Regions from separate parts of the Homo sapiens genome. Here region 2 is linked to region 1. Evidence: promoter capture Hi-C in 16 types of primary human blood cells and fetal thymus (Javierre and others, 2016). All regions are on one chromosome and are shown on one strand. The core of a region is centred on a gene start or on the middle of the fragment in contact, and the rest is flanking DNA. Distances in the headings are between cores, read along the strand shown. Region 1 holds the start of CSNK1D (casein kinase 1 delta). Region 2 overlaps OGFOD3 (2-oxoglutarate and iron dependent oxygenase domain containing 3).

Region 1 (7,898 bases), core at 2,403-4,902:
AGGTGTGTGTGGGCTGTGTCACCTTCCCAACCTGCCCTCCTGAAGGGCCTTGCGGATCTGGCAATCTCAGACTGAAGACAGATTGTTCTTTTTGGGGTCCCACTTTCCAAAGCCTGGGCATTCAAGAAATAGCCCCAAAATACTGCCCCCTTTGAAGGGGCAATTTTGGAACACGACAACCTGGCAGGGCCCTGCAGTGAGCACCCGCCCTCCAACTGTCACAGCAGGGTCGGGGCAGGCAGGCCCACACCACGCTTCTAGCCCACAGGCACTCCACTGAAGCACAGCCTTCCCCCCTTCCTGGTCTCAAACATCTGAAAGCACAGAAAGTCCCCGGTAGAAAAACAAGAACCCAAAAGCCAAGCTCAAAGCAAGGTGAACCCCACCTGGAGGATACCAAAGTGACAACAGTAGGAATGGTCTTAACGATACTCATACTAGAATATACACGACACACAGAGGTCAAGATGAAGACCTAGTTCCTCGATTTATGTGTAACTGGCTGCCCAAACAAAACTATGGTGGGGATGACCGATCCATCTCATAGTCTTCAGATCAGCCATCTTTGACTCTAACTGCCATTCTGCTCAGACCCACGCTTCTTTCAAACTGCCTTACTCCGGCTAACGTGACCACCTCGCCTTTCCTCCGTGGGGTCGTCTGAAAGGACCACAGTGTAGGCTAGGAGCCAATGCTGATGGGAAAAAAAAAAATCAGCTGTGCCTAACCCCACTCAAGTAACTGGACGTGTACCCTGATGGGTGGCTGTCTGGGACGGCTGTCTGGGGGCTCCAACCCCAGGGTGTCAGAGCCACAGCCGCCCGCAATCCCGTATCCAGCATGACTGTATGCCCAGCGCGAGGTGAGGCCTGGAGGGTAGAATGCTGAGTGAGGAGACAGCCTTCCACCCTCCACCTCTGGAATTACTTGGTGACAACCACACCAAAATTTGTCTTAATCTATCTTTGGAAAGCACAAAGTTGTTTGACAAGGTCTCAGATCAGAGAACAGATAGTTTCAAAGTACTTCTTATTTATTTATTTTTTGAGACAGAGTCTCACTCCATCGCCCAGGCTGCAGTGCAGTGGTGTGATCTTGGCTCACTGCAACCTCCGCCTCCCAGGTTCAAGCAATTCTCGTGCCTCAGCCTCCCAAGTAGCTGGAATTACAGGCAGCCACCACCACGCCTGGCCAATTTTTGTATTTTTAGTAGAGATGGGGTTTCGCCACTTTGGCCAGGCTGGTCTCCTGACCTCAAGCGACCCGCCCACCTCAGCTTCCCAAAGTGCTGGGATTACAGGCGTGAGCCACCACACCCGGCCCAAAATACTCCTTTTTGATGCCTGCCTAAAGGTGGCTAATGGACTGGCTTTGCAGTGTAACTCAGATCCTGGGGTTAAAACTTTCGCCAAAATCCATTGTTCTATAAATAAGCCAAACGACTTCCATTGACCAAGCACTCTGACTTCCCAAACACTGCCAAGAACACATCCAGCTGACCACCTGGTATAAATGTTTAATAGCCAAACCCAAATGTCTAAAGCCTGCTTACTCAGCAGTCCACTAAGGCATATGTACAGGTTCAAAAGCAACAATATGGCATGTGACAGGGTCACCTGGCAGGTTAACCAGGCACCGAAAGTATGAGCCACCCATATGTGTGGATTCGTCCTAACGCTGTCAGCCCACCGGGTCCTGAGTCCTCTCTCTGGTGACAAGTGGGAAGGGTGTGAGAACTGGAGACTGTCCACATGTGGCTTCATCTAAAAGGTATGACCAGAGGCATTACTGACATCCCAGGGGATTCCTGACCCTAGCTGACAGGTGCCCCAGTTAAAACACACCCCAAAGCTAGGGCTGCTGGAACAGAAAACAGCTCCCCTCAAAGGTCTGCAGCAGCCCCTCTGCAGGCACACCGCCTCAGGCTACATATCCTCAAATTCAGGGGATCTTGGAATAACTCGTGCATTGCACAATCCCACTAACAAGTGCGGAAAATTAAGTTACTTTAAAATTACAAACTTGGGCCAGGCGCGGTGGCTTCCCAGCACTTCGGGAGGCCGAACTGGGCGGATCACTTGAGGTCCGGAGTTCGAGACCAGCCTTGACCAACATGAAGAAACCCCGTCTCTACTAAAAATACGAAATTAGCCAGGCGTGGTGGCGCACGCCTGTGATCCCAGCTTTTCGGGAGGCTGAGGCAGGAGAATCGCTTGAACCTGGGAGGCAGAGGTTGCGGTGAGCCGAGATCACGCCATTGCACTCCAACCTGGGCAACAAGAGCGAAACTCCGTCTCAGGAAAAAAAAAAAAATTACAAACTTGAAGATTTAAGCCAACCTTTCATCACACTTGTGTTCACGTGCATATTTTTCCATTGTAAATATGACACAACCCAAAACCTTCTAATCCCATTGTTTTTGAAATCTACCTTGAGACTGTTACAGTCTAAAGGACACCTCATGAGTACAACTACCTCATCTGCCTCTCATCTTGCCAGCATCTTAATCCTGTGTGACTTTCTCTACATTCACCTAAACTTAACCCTTGCTCATTTGCACTCAGTCACCGCTCCAAGGCCAAGGGGAACCGTTCAGAGAGAACCCCCAGCGGGAGGGCAAGCCCCACTCCTAGCCGGGCCACTCCCCCGCTCCACACGGCATTTGGGTCTTTCTGACATTTTCCCCCACGAATGCAAGACACCGGGGCAGCCTCTGAGGGGGCAGCCAGACAGCCCCGGACCGGGCTGCGGAAGAAAGAGCGTGGCCTTTGTTTACTGCGGTGACCTTAGGCGTAGAGGAAGCCGACGCCCGCTTCGCGGCCCCAGCCCTACCCCCTCCCCTCCCACGGCCCGCTGCCCCCACCCCCGCCCTGCCCCTCCCCCAGGCCCGCCTCCCCACGCCCCACCCAGCCCTTCCCGAGTCCGCTCCCCACGACCCTGCCCCTACCCAGGTCGGCTCCCCAGAGACCATGCCCCACCCCGGGTCAGCTCCCCTATCCCCTCCTTCCCCAACCCTCCCCTCTCCAGACCCTGCTCCCCCGACCTGGTCCTGCCCCTCCCCCACGTCCGCTCCCCACTGCCCTCCCCACCCCTGGCCGCGCTAGCCTAGTGGCCGTTGGGTTCTGGCCACGATCCGGCGGTGCCGGGACTTGCGCGGAGACCCCGCGGGGGCCACCACTTCCTTCCGCGATCGCGCTTGGTCTTGGCAGCCGCAGGGCCCGGGTCTTCGGGCGGCGGGCGGGGGCGGCGGGGCCTCACCGAGATAGATGTCTCCGAAGGAGCCGCTGCCGATCTTCCGGCCCAGCCGGTACCTGTTCCCGACTCTCAGCTCCATGGCGGCGGCGGCCCGATTCGCTCCTGCCCTCCCGGCCGCTTCCTGGGTCTGAACTCTGGGAGGCGGCGCCGCTGCTGCCGCTACTGCGGGTCCGGCTCCCGGCTCCGCCCCCCTCACGGCCCCGCTTTCACCATCGCTTTCCTGTCGCCCCGCCGCTCCCAGCGCCTCAATACGGGGCGGATGGGACAGTCCGAGCGCCGCCGCCGCTGCTCCGGCCCCTACCGGTCCCGCTTGCCCTCTCCCCGCCGCGGATGGACTCGGATCTTCCGGGCCTAAATCCCCTTTCAGCTGCCTAAAGGAGCCGCCGCCATCGCGCTGTGACGTCACTTCCCCTAGCAACCCGGCGGGGCGGGGCCGCGGCGCTCCAGGGGCGGGGCCGGGCGGGGCGAGCGCTCCAGGCCTCCTCCCGACCCTGCGCCGTGCCCAGCCCCTCTGCCCTCCTGTTACCCCGGGACCTCGGGCCGCCAGCCCCTTCCACGTGCAGGCTCCTGCTGCTCTCGCGGGGGCTTTTCGTGTGTCCCCCGAGATGTCGAGGAAGCCAGGTGAGTTCCTCGCGACAGGCGGTGCCCTTTGCAGGAGGGGACAGGTAGCTGAGGCGTGGACAGAGTGACAGGCCAGGCTCAGGGGACACAGGTGAGACCCCCTCACTGGGCTGCCAGTTCCCGGGCTTGGGGCATCCCAGTACGTCAGCGTCTGCGGCCTTACCTCCTGACACCTAAGGCCAGAGACAGAGCAGGCCCGCGCCCTGGGAGGTCCTGATGTCCAGCCTGAAGATTGAGGACAAAGCCACCACCTTTCACAAAATGAGGCCAGACCACCTGCCTCCCTCCAGTCCCTGCGGCCTGGAGACGGAGTCAACATTCTTATCTGTGTTGGATCTGAATGTTCCTCCTTGCAAAGGAAACAAGGAGTGGACGTTCAGGCTGATGGCCAGCTTCAAAGATCGGGGCCTTTGATTCCCATCACTGGGAAGAAAGCCCTTCAGACAAGCCCCCCCAGGCTGCAGGTGCATGGGGACCTTGAAGAACCCGTCCCCATGGTCCCACGTCCATGTGTCTCGAGACCTGTCGCATCCTCGCTGAAACTCAAGAATGTGAAACAGGTGAAGGTGTGTTTTGACGCATTAGCATACCAGGGCTGTGGTGTGGGCACCGCCGTGTGAGTGAGACAGCAGCCTCAGCCCGTCCAGGTCACTGCAGAAGAGGAAAGCAGCCCCCACAGGCCCCACAGTGGTGCTCGCCTTTCTCCACCCCCCAGTCTTTCCTCTCCACCCCTCAGCTCCAAACAGCTGGAGGTCAGGTCGGGGAGACGGGCGTCCATTCCCGAAATTACATAGCAGGGCCTGGAGACAGGAGATGCCGCCGGCCAGACCACCATCAGTCACTAATGAGGGATGGGCAGTCGGAACTGCCCAGTTTCTGAGTTACAGAAGCCGGGGGTGGGGGGCTGCCAGACTAGTAAAACTGACCTTGTTGGCGGAATCGCTCACGGCTTTTCTGTTGATGAACAGAGTCCAGCTCTCCCACGGGTGGCTGTGATCCTTCTTCCTGGGGAGTCCTGCTGTCCCTGACTAGGGGCACCTGCCCACCTGTCAGCTGCTCCTCCCTCGGCTGGTCCTCCTGGGCTCTGATGGCCCCAACATTTCTAGCTCTTCTCACCCATAGTGCCCCAAGCTTCATGCAGCTGCGGCAGGTACTGTGCCCGTCTGCCTGGCTTTTGTGTGTTTGTGTCTTGACTCTATAACCCGTGCACACGGACTGGGCTGTGGTGTAGTGGGGATGGCAGGAGCCCTGGGAACATGCGGGCTGGGCAAGGTGAGGCAGGCTGATTGCTGTGGCTCCCCCACCACCAGCCCCAGCCACAACAAACTGACAAAGGAAGAGGACAGTGGTACCCTGGAGCCCTGGGGTCAGAGAGAGGAGGACAAAGCAGGTGTGTAGCCCAGGGAATGACAGCACCCCTTCCGAGAAGACAGGGAGGGTGCAGACATGGCCAGGTTCTGAGCTAGAAAACTGTCAGCAGGGGGCTGAAGCTGAGGATAGTCATTGCCAAGGAACAGCCTCCGTCACAGAGGAGACGCACAGATGCGGTGACGAGGGAGGGATGCGGGGCTGGTGACCGCTGGGAACGGATGTGTGAGGCAGAGTCTCCAGGCATGGTCTGTGGGGCGGTTTGATGATACTAGAACATCTCAGAGTAGAAGGACGTCCCGACCTGCAGACTGGAAAGCCCCCAGAGCTCCCGGCAGGACGTATGAGGGCCAGCCCACACCCAGGTCTGTCCTGATACAACTGAACGCCACAGTGTCTTAGCTCCTTTACTGTTGCTATCAAGAAACACCTGAGGCTGGGAAATTTATGAAGAATCATGAGGTAATTTGTATATTTGTCCACACTAAACCTCATGTTGAATTGTAAACCCCAAGGCTGGAGGTGGCTGGGTCATGGGGGTGGATTTCTCAGGAATGTTTAGTACCATCCCCTTGGTGCTGTCCTTGAGATAGTGAGTTCTCCTGAGATCTGGTTATTTAAAAAGTGTGGGGCACCTCTCTCTCTCGCTCACTCGCTCGCTCGCTCCTGCTCTGGCCATGTGACGTGCCCGCTCCCCCATTGCCTTTCACCATGATTGGAAGCTTCCGGAGGCCTCCCCAGAAGCTGAGCAGAGGCCAGCACCATGCCTCCTGTAAAGCCTGCAGAACCAGGAGCCAAGTAAACCTCTTTTCATTATTTATTTATTTATTTATTTATTTATTTTGACACAGGGTCTCGCTCTGTTGCCCAGGCTGGAGTGCAGTGGCGTGATCTCGGCTCACTGCAACCTCTGCCTCCTGGGCTCAGGTGATCCTCCCACCTCACCCTCCTGAGTAGCTGGGACTACAGGCACACGCCACCATACCTGGCTAATTTTTCATATTTTTTGTAGACATGGGGTCTTACTGGCCCAGACTGGTCTCAAACTTCTGAGCTCAAGTGATCCATCCACCTTGGCCTTCCAGAGTGCTGGGATCACACGCATGAGCTACCATGCCGGCCCTCTTTTCTTTTAAAATTGCCCAGTCCTAAGTATTTCTTTATAGCAAGGCAACCACAGCCTAACACAGCTCACGATGCTGAGGTCTCAAAAGTTCAAGATCGGGCGTCTGCCTCTAGTGAGGGCCTTGCTGCCGCTGCCTCCACTCATGGCAGAAGGTGAAGGGCAGCTGGAGTGTGTGCAGACCGTGTGCGAGAGGGAGCTGGAGGAGTAGGGAAGTACAGGCCTTTTTTTTTTTTTTTAAGATGGAGTCTCGCTCTGTTGCCCAGGCTGGAGCGCAGTGGCGCAATGCCGGCTCACTGCAACCTCCGCCTCCCGGGTTCAAGCGATTCTCCTGCCTCAGCCTGCTGAGTAGCTGGGATTAGAGGCATGCGCCACTATGCCCGGCTAATTTTTGTATTTTTGTAGAGACGGGGTTTCACCATGTTGGTCAGGCTGATCTTGAACTTCTGACCTCGTGATCCGCCCGCCTTAGCCTCCCAAAGTGCTGAGATTATAGGCATGAGGCACCGTGCCGGCCGTGCAGGTGTTTTTAAAAGCACCTCTTGCTGGAACTAGTAGGAGTGAAAACTCACTCATTACTAAGAGGACAGCACCAAACTGTTCGTGAGGAATCTGCCCCCATGACCCAGACACCTCCAACACTGGGGCTCAGATTTCAACCTGAGGTTTGAAGGGGACCAACACCCAAACTATAGAAACAGAGAAAGAGGAAAGTTTACAGATACCCATTTAGAAAGAATCTGCTAACAAAGGGAAAGAATCAGGCTGGGCGCGGTGGTTTATGCCTGGAATCCCAACACTTTGAGAGGCCAAGGTGGGTGGATCACCTGAGGTCAGGAGTTTGAGACCAGCCTGGCCAGCATGTGAAACCCTGTCTCTACTAAAAATGCAAACATTAGCCAGGCGTAGTGACGTGCACCTGTAGTCCCAGCTACCCAGGAGGCCAGGCAAGAGAATTGCTGGAGTTCATGAGACAGAGGTTGCAGTGAGCAGAGATCCTGCCACTGCACTCCAGCCCAGGCAACAAGAGCGAGACTGTGTCTCAAAAACAAACAAACAACAACAACAAAAGGAAAGAATCAGACTGGCTTGGGACTCTGCTGTCCCCTGCCCGTGACCTCCCAAAAGCGTGTGTTAGAGACTGACCTGCCTAGTGCGTCAGTGGAGGGGGCACTTTGGAGAGGGGCTTGGATCGTGAGGCCCCGCCCTCGTGAATGGCTCAGTGCCTTGTGAAAGGGCTTGATGGAGGGAGTTTGGTCCCTTTTCCCCTTTTGTCTCTCTGCTGTGTGAGGACACCATGTTCCTCCCCTCTGGAGGATGCTGTAACAAGCTGTCATCTCGGGAGGAGACACCAGGCCCTGACCAGACGCTGAACATGCCAGCACCTTCATCTTGGACTTTCCAGCCCCCAGAACTGTGAGAAATAAATTTCTGTTCTTTATAAGTACCTAGTCCATGGTGTTTTGTTACAGCAGCATGAACAGACTGAGATAGCGGCTTACATGTAACCGGAAGCTGCAGAAAAACATCT
Region 2 (7,898 bases), core at 678-3,177, 130 kb after region 1:
AAGCCCCCTGCCCACAGGCTGTGGAGAGTCCACACCTCCCAGCTCTTGCGTCCCAAAGAACCAGGAAGGACCCGGCCAACATCACAGCCACTGAGGCCCTGAGGCTGCACCGAGCCGGATCCTCCCTCACATGTCCACGTGTCCACATGTCCATGGCTAAGAGGCACGGAGCCGCTCACTCGGCTTTCAGAGCCAGCACTGAGGTCATGCTGCAGCACTCACCTGTACAGGTTCACAAAGTGCTTCCCGACAGACAGGGCCCCTGAGTGCAAGTCCAGAATGGATGCCTGGAAAAGACGTTGTGGAGTAAAGCGTGCAGCCGCAGCAATGGCAATGGCTGTTAAAAGTCATGGATGGTAAATGCGAGTTTCCAAGGTCTGGCCAGCACACACCTCAGGTGTTTTTTTGTTTTTGTTTTTGTTTTTTGTAAAAAGGATCTTATTCTGTTGCCCAGGCTAGGGCGCAGTGGCACAATCTCAGCTCATTGCAGCCTCAATATTCCAGGCTCCAGGCCAAACAATCCTCCCACCCTCTGCCTCCCAAGTAAAGGCGCTCGCCACCACACCTGGCTAATTTTTCTATTTTTTGTAGAGATGTGGTCTCACTATATTACCTAGGCTGGTCTCGAACTCCGGGGCTCAAGTGATCCTCCCACCTCAGCCTCCCAAAGTACTGGGATTACAGGCATTAGCCACTGCACCCAGCCTCAACCCAGGACTTTCTTAAAATCCTCCCAGACCGGCCAGACGTGGTGGCTCACACCTGCAATCCCAGCACTTTGGGAGGCTGAGACAGGTGGATTGCTTGAGGCCAGGAGTTCAAAACCAGCCTGGCTAACATGGTGAAACCCCATGTCTACTAAAAATACAAAATTAGCTGGGCATGGTGGCGAGCTGTAATCCCAGCTGTAGCTGGGACACCTACAGAGATAGCCTCCCAAGGAGCTGTAATCCCAGCTACTTGGGAGGCTGAGGCAGGAGAATCACTTGAATCAGGGAGGCGGAGGTTGCAGCGAGCCGAGATCGTGCCATTGCACTCCAGCCTGGGCTACAAGAGCGAAACTCCATCTCAAAAAAAAAAAAAAATCTTCCTGGACCAAACACTTTTGTTCCCTGTGACCTAAAGAATGGTGGCACGTGTGGGCTATTTTTAGTCTGGAGCCATCTCCGTGCAGCTCCGTGCCAGTCACAGTCATGTGTCCCTGTGGGCAAGTGTTGACTTCTCTCGAGTAAATGCCTCACAGCGGTGCTCCCACCTTGGCCTCCTGGGCGGCTGGCACCACAGTGCGCGCCACGCCAAGCCTGAGTCATCACTTTGTAAGCCACTGCTGAAGTGTTTCCTGCCCGACCACCCACCTCTCAGTCCTTCCCTACGTCCTCAGAGGAAGAGGCTTCCAGCCCACGTTAGTCATCCCACCTGTGACCCCAGAGGAGCCCCACTGCTGCCCCTTCCTCATCGCCACAGCCACTGGCCCTGCGGCACTAACCTAGCTTGGGCCCGCTGAACAGTAACTGAACCCAAAGCAGCGGCCCAGCCAGCTCCATGCAGGACAACTTCCCATGTGAACGTGGAGGAGCTGTGAAACAGAAACCTACTCACTCACAGATCTTTAACAAATAGCCCCCGAACTGAACCAAACCAAACTGAAATAAAGGGAGGAACTTAGGCCGGGCACGGTGGTTCACACCTGTAATCCCAGCACTTTGGGGGGTCAAGGCAGGTGGGTCACCTGAGCTCTGGAGTTCAAGACCAGCCTGGCCAACATGGTGAAACCTCATCTCTATTTAAAATGCAAAAATTAGCCGGGCATCATGGCACATGCCTGTAGTCCCAGCTACTCAGGAGGCTAAGGCAGAAGAATGGCTTGAACCCAGGAGTTGGAGGTTGCAGTGAGTGGAGATCGCCCCATTGCACTCCAGCCTGGGCAACAGAGCGAGACTCTGTCTCAAAAAAAGAAGAAAAAAAGGAACTTAATTTTCAGAACTCAAGAGAAAAGAGTTTGCAGAAAAAAGTCACACAGACCATCACAGAAATACTTTGAAATTCTCAAAGAGTCTATAAATTAATTTTCTAGAAGTTTCAAATATGCAGAAAGACTCAAGTCTATTCAGTGATTATAATTCAAAGCGATCACCAAATAAACAGAGAGAAACAGATCTTCAGACAATTCCACACACCGAGCAAGAAAACAACCCTGAGGAAACCGCATGGGAATTGGAGCTAACACCAGCTGCACCAGACTGACTCCCAGCCACTGCCCAACAGGAGGGCGAGGCCACAGCCGGCGGTGGCTCCATGATCCCTGCGGCTGTGGTAACACAAACTGGGGCTTTAAAACAACACAAGTTTATTCTCTCACAGTTCTAGAGCCCAGGAGTCTAAAATCGAGGTGTGGGAGGGGCCCTGCTCCCTCCCAGGGCTCCAGGGGAGGTCCTGCCCGCCTCTTCCATGGCCGCACTGCTCCCATCTCTGCCTCCATCATCACAGGACCTTTTCCTCCTCCCTCTCAAATCTCCCCCTGCCTCTGTCTCCTATAGGCACTTGCCATTGGATTTAGGACCCTAAATCTGGGATGATGTCATCTTGAGATCCTTAAGTTAATTACATCTGCAAAGGTCCCTTTTCCAAATCAGATCATGTCCACGGGCTCCAGGTGAACACATTATCCGAGGCCACTAGCTGACCCCCTGCAGCCTCACATGGGACGACAGCCCCACAGGGCGTCCATGGAGGCGTCCAGCTAGGAAGTTGCAGGATGCGTTGCAGCGTGTCTGTCCCACGGAGGCCCTGCTGTTTCCCGGCAGCTCCACGGGCTCTCCTGTGTCCAGCATGCGCAGCCGTCTCCTCGCTGGGCTCCCACCCCGCTCCCTTGCCGGCTCCCTGCTTCCGACCCCCTCTATCCCCCAGTGTGAACTGGAGCCAGGCAGGCCGTGACATGCCATGAATAGATGGCCACGCACATCTAAGGACACACTCTTCCCAACGAGGGGACGCCGCACGGGTTTCAGTCAGGCGCAGCTGCTGCGGCTGGTGCTGAGAAACACCACGGCAGGCCCCACCCACATTTGGGGGCACGCAGGGAACCCTGCATGTCTGTGCCTTCCCCTTCCCATCCAAGTGAGAGCAAAGTTAACGGGTAAAAAAAGGGGGGCAGGGACTACATTCAACTCACCCCTCCGTCAGATCCTCCCAGGGAGAGCCCCTTTTCAGCTACGCTGCAGGGAGAAAATAATTCAGAATTTCGTTGCTAGAATTGTCTATAATGTATAATCTAGGCAAACGTCAATCAGCAAAATTAATGCAACATTAGTGGGTCCTGCGTGTTTAATGTTTATGATGTAAACAAATGTTTAGACCAAAGGACTCAACTTTCAAAGTTCAGTGCGTAAGCGACAATACTGCCATCGTTGTCTTGTCAATATTTGACTCAGCTTAGAAACGACTGGGCTTCAGCACCTTGGGAGGCCAAGGCGGGTGGATCACGAGGTCAGGAGTTCCAGACCAGCCTGGCCAACATGGTGAAACCTCGTCTCAACTAAAAATACAAAAATTAGCCAGCTGTGATGGCAGGTGCCTGTAATCCCAGCTACTCTGGAGGCTGAGCCAGGAGAATCGCTTGAACCCAGAAGGCAGAGGTTGCAGTGAGCCGAGATCGCGCCACTGCACTCCAGCCTGGACAACAAAGCAAGACTCTGTCAAGAAAGAAAGAAAAAGAGAGAGAGAGAGAGAGAGAGAAAGGGAGGGCTGGGCTTAATCTCTCATCTTCAATATCGAAAGCCACCTGGGCCAAGCTCAGGAGCCTGGGGAGCATCTAGGGGAGGGCCCACTGCTCCCCATCTCTCCTGGAACCCCAGGCAGGTGGGGGAAGCTTTGAGATTCACCAGCTCAGGAGATAGGGGCCCTGACCATGGTGGGAGAAAGACACCCACACGCCAGCTGTGCTGGACCACAGAGGACCACCCTGAGCTGCCACAGGTGCTGGGAGCTGCCTGTGGACACCAAGTGGGGACACGCCGGTGCCTCAGTCAGACAGCAGTAACCCCACTGGAGCTAGGCAGCAGTAACCCTGCGTGGAGCTAGGCAGCATCCTCGGGGGCAGGCTCCCTGGGGAGAATCTCAGGGCAGGGCACGTGGCCCAGGGCTGCACACCATTCCACATGCTTATCGTCTCAACAAGTGGTTGGAAAATCAAAACTTTCTTTTAAGATCTCAGTAAGAAAAGTCCAGCACCAGTAGCCTCTGAGTGGCATCCTGTGCTGCCACAAGTCATAGCCAGGTGGGCTGACGGGCTCCCTGGAGGCAGTTTCAGAGCAGACACTGAGCGGTCATTGAGCAGTGTCCCGGAGGCTCCGTGGGGAGCATGGGGCACTCAGCAGCAGCCCCCAGAGGCGGCCACAACCCCTGCAGAGGAACCTGGGCCTCTGGGTACTCTCCCAGCTACTGCTTCGCTGAGGGCCATGGTCTCCTCTCCTGAAATCGGAAAATCTGAGCTTGGCCCTTGAAAGCACATAATTCTTTTTTTTTTTTTTTTTTTTTTTTTTGAGATGGAGTCTCACTCTGTCACCCAGGCTGGAATGCAATGGCTCAATCTCGGCTCACTGCAATCCCTGCCTCCCAGGTTCAAGCAATTCTCCTGTCTCAGCCTCCTGAGTAGCTGGGATTACAGGAGTGTGCCATCACACTCGGCTAATTTTTCATATTTTAGTAGAGACAGGGGTTTCACCATGTTGCCCAGGCTGGTGTCGATCTCCTGAGCTCAGGCAATCCACCCGCCTTGGCCTCCCCAAGTGCTAGGATTACAGGCATGAGCCACCGCACCCAGCCTGGAAATTCTTATAAAATTATAATAAAATCTTTTTTTTTTTTTTGGAGATAGAATCTCGCTCTGTCGCCCAGGATGGAGTGCAGTGGTGCAGTCTTGGCTCACTGCAACCTCTGCCTCCCGGGTTCCAGCGATTCTCCTGCCTCAGCCTCCTGAGTAGCTGGGACTACAGGCACATGCCACCACACCCAGCTAATTTATTGTATTTTAGTAGAGACAGGGTTTCACCATGTTGCCCAGGCTGGTCTCGAACTCCTGAACTCAGGCAATCTGCCCGCCTCAGCCTCCCCAAGTGCTGGGATTACAGGCGTGAGCCACCACGCCTGGCAATAAAATCCTTAAAACCACTTTATTACTAACAATGCTCTGCTTCCCGCCCTAGCCCCACTCCGCGTGTGTTTGTTTGAATCCCACCGTGCTCAGGGACAGGCGGTTACCTGCGAATCCGCTCCGCTTCCTCCCTGGTGATGACGACATCGGTGACACCTCTGCCGCACTTTCGGGGAGTGCAGCCTGTGAAGGGACAGCCAGGGTGAGACGCAGTTTCCAAGGCCACCGGCGCATGCCCTTCCAGGGAATCAGGGCCAGAACTGGCTAATACGCCCGGTCAAATGTGAATTTCAGACACACACAACCACAGCTCTCCAGCGTGCATGCGCTTTGTGCGGTGCATCTGGAGTTCACGTCTCACTGGGCCACCTTGGCTTCCAGTGGCTCCAACTGGAAATTTAATCCAGAGGCACCTGTTGCTGCCCCAAACCCTGGGAAAGTCACAGAAACCCCAGACACGGCGTCAACAGCATTCCTGAACCATCACTGACTGCAGGTCCAGACACCCACAGGCACCGTCAGAAAACCCTTCTGAGACCACCAGAGCAGAAAACCCTCCTGAGACCGCCAGAGAGGAAAACCCTCCTGAGACCACCAGGGAGGAAAACCCTCCTGAGGCCACCAGAGGGGGGAACCCTCCTGAGACCACCAGAGCAGAAAACCCTCCTGAGACCACCAGAGAGGAAGACCCTCCTGGGACCACTGGCGCAGAAAACCCTCCTGAGACCGCCAGAGAGGAAAACCCTCCTGAGACCACTGGAGCAGAAAACCCTCCTGAGACCACCAGAGTGGAGCTTGTGGGTCTAGTCCCAGTCCTTCCCCAGGGCACAGCGAACTGCTCCGCACATGCCCCTGTCTCTCCCCGTACCTTGGTGACCTGCGGAGGCTGAGAGGGAAGAGGAAGCAGCAGCTCAAATGGGGGTCAGGGTGGTCGGGGCAGGGGCAGGGTCGTTGGGACAGGAGCAACACGGTCGGGGCAGGGGCATGGTTATCGGGGCAGGGGCATGGTTATCGGGGCAGGGGCATGGTTATCGGGGCAGGGGCATGGTTATCGGGGCAGGGGCATGGTTATCGGGGCAGGGGCATGGTTATCGGGGCAGGGGCATGGTTATCGGGGCAGGGGCAAGGTCGTTTGGGGCAGCGGCAGTGTCGTTGGGACAGGATCAGAGTGGACAGGAGTCAGGGTCATTGGGCAGAGGAAAGGTGGACAGGGCAGGGGCAGGGTGTTTGGGGCAGGGGCAGGGTGGTCAGACAGGGTTAGGGTGTTTGGGGCAGGGTGGTCAGGGCAGGGGCAGGGTGGTCGAGGCAGCATCGCACAGATGCACAAGGTACAGCAGAGTGTCGGAGAGGGGCCCAGGGACCCGCCCCTGTGGTTTGGTACCAAGTGCAGCTGGCTTCATGCGCTGGAAAGGCGTCAGGCCATGCCTGATCGATCAGACAGCAGCCCACAAGCACCAGGACATGGGGCAAACCGGGACTCCACAATATGCTTTTCCTCCCTCTCCCTACATCCTGCCTAAAAAGCCAGCCCTGAGCCTGGACGTGGAGCATCCCTCCCGGGACCATGGGAATAAAAGCCTCGCACTCAGTGCTGAGTGCCAGCATCAGGGGCTTGGACCCAGGGATCACAAGGCACCGAGATGACCTTGGTTCCTTTCTCTGGGCCTTGTGCCAGGAGATAAACAGAGCTCCACTTGGCTGAATATCAGGGAAGGGGGGCTGTAGTTACTGTGGTTAAATGATCTAATGGACATAGGTGTTGTATTTCAAAAACAAAAAGTCATTTTATGCTTTTTTATAAGGTTTACCCCACAAAACGCGAGGACACAGGAAAGCGGAAAGCAAACAGCAAATGCAATGAGAGCCACACAGGCCCGTGGCGCAGCCTCTGTACTAGCAAAGAGAATCACTAGAGGGAAGAGAGGGTCCCCCGCGGCACAGGAGCGACTCGGCAGGAAGGGGAAGGGGCAGCAGACAGCAGACAGCATCGCCCCATGACACACGTGGCAACCAAAGCACAGACGCTGCTGGGTCCATGCTCAGTGGAGGTTCTGACGCCCCTTTCCATAGCCGGTGGGTGAAGGAGACAGAAACTGGTGATGAGAATTTGTGCACACGAGCGTGGGTCAGGAGAAATACCCACAACGTTGTGAAAAGGGACCAAAAATCCCACGCATTTCCAAATCTTTTAAATTTCCAAGTAATTCATGAGTTAAAAAACAATAATAATAAAAATTAGAGGCCAGGCGCAGTGGCTCATGCCTGTAACCCCAGGGCCTTAGGAGGCCAAGGCAGGTGGATCACCTGAGGTCAGCAGTTTGAGATCAGCCTGGGCAACATAGGCAAAACACCGTCTCTACTAAAATTACAAAAATTAGCCAGACATGGTGGCAGGTGCCTGTAGTCCCAGCTACTCAGGAGGCTGAGGCAGGAGAATCACTTGAACCCAAGAGGCCTGGCGGAGGTTGCAGTGAGCCGAGATCATGCCACTGCACTCCAGCCTGGGCAACACAGTGAGTGACACTCTGTCCAAAAAAAAAAAAAAGAAGAAAGAAAGAAAAAGAAAATACATCAAACCATTTGTTTTATTGTAAAATATATACAAGATAGAATTTACCATTTTAGCCAAGCTTTTTAAAAAGTGCGCAGTGTGGTGGCATCGGGCACAATAGCATCGTGCAGCCGTCACTAGCACCACCTCCAGAACTTTTCCACCTCCCACAGGTGAAATCCCAAATCTATTAAA

Evidence for each region. The method cuts DNA at HindIII sites, captures the fragments that hold promoters and counts their contacts. A CHiCAGO score of 5 or more calls a contact.
Region 2: a fragment that was not itself captured here is called in contact with the fragment with the promoter of CSNK1D in region 1 in 4 of 17 cell types (activated CD4 T cells, naive CD4 T cells, naive CD8 T cells and 1 more); the score reaches 9.2 in activated CD4 T cells.

What each region holds. Positions count from the first base shown.
Region 1 is chr17:82,270,048-82,277,945 of GRCh38, forward strand. CSNK1D (casein kinase 1 delta) reads right to left here and starts at 3,653. Exons shown (of 9, transcript NM_001893.6): 1 at 3,259-3,653. The coding sequence starts at 3,334. It overlaps LOC124904089 (a long non-coding RNA gene), which reads left to right and starts at 3,731. Exons shown (of 2, transcript XR_007065953.1): 1 at 3,731-5,026; 2 at 7,843-7,898. RefSeq lists silencers at 3,053-3,102, 3,153-3,342, 3,583-3,792 and an enhancer at 6,654-7,153. The HindIII fragment of the contact is 9,296 bases long and covers 1-5,005 here.
Region 2 is chr17:82,406,196-82,414,093 of GRCh38, forward strand. It overlaps OGFOD3 (2-oxoglutarate and iron dependent oxygenase domain containing 3), which reads right to left. Exons shown (of 9, transcript NM_024648.3): 3 at 5,260-5,335; 4 at 3,173-3,215; 5 at 223-287. Among named protein-coding and RNA genes, the nearest start is that of HEXD, 8.2 kb to the right of the region's middle. The HindIII fragment of the contact is 3,878 bases long and covers 1-3,866 here.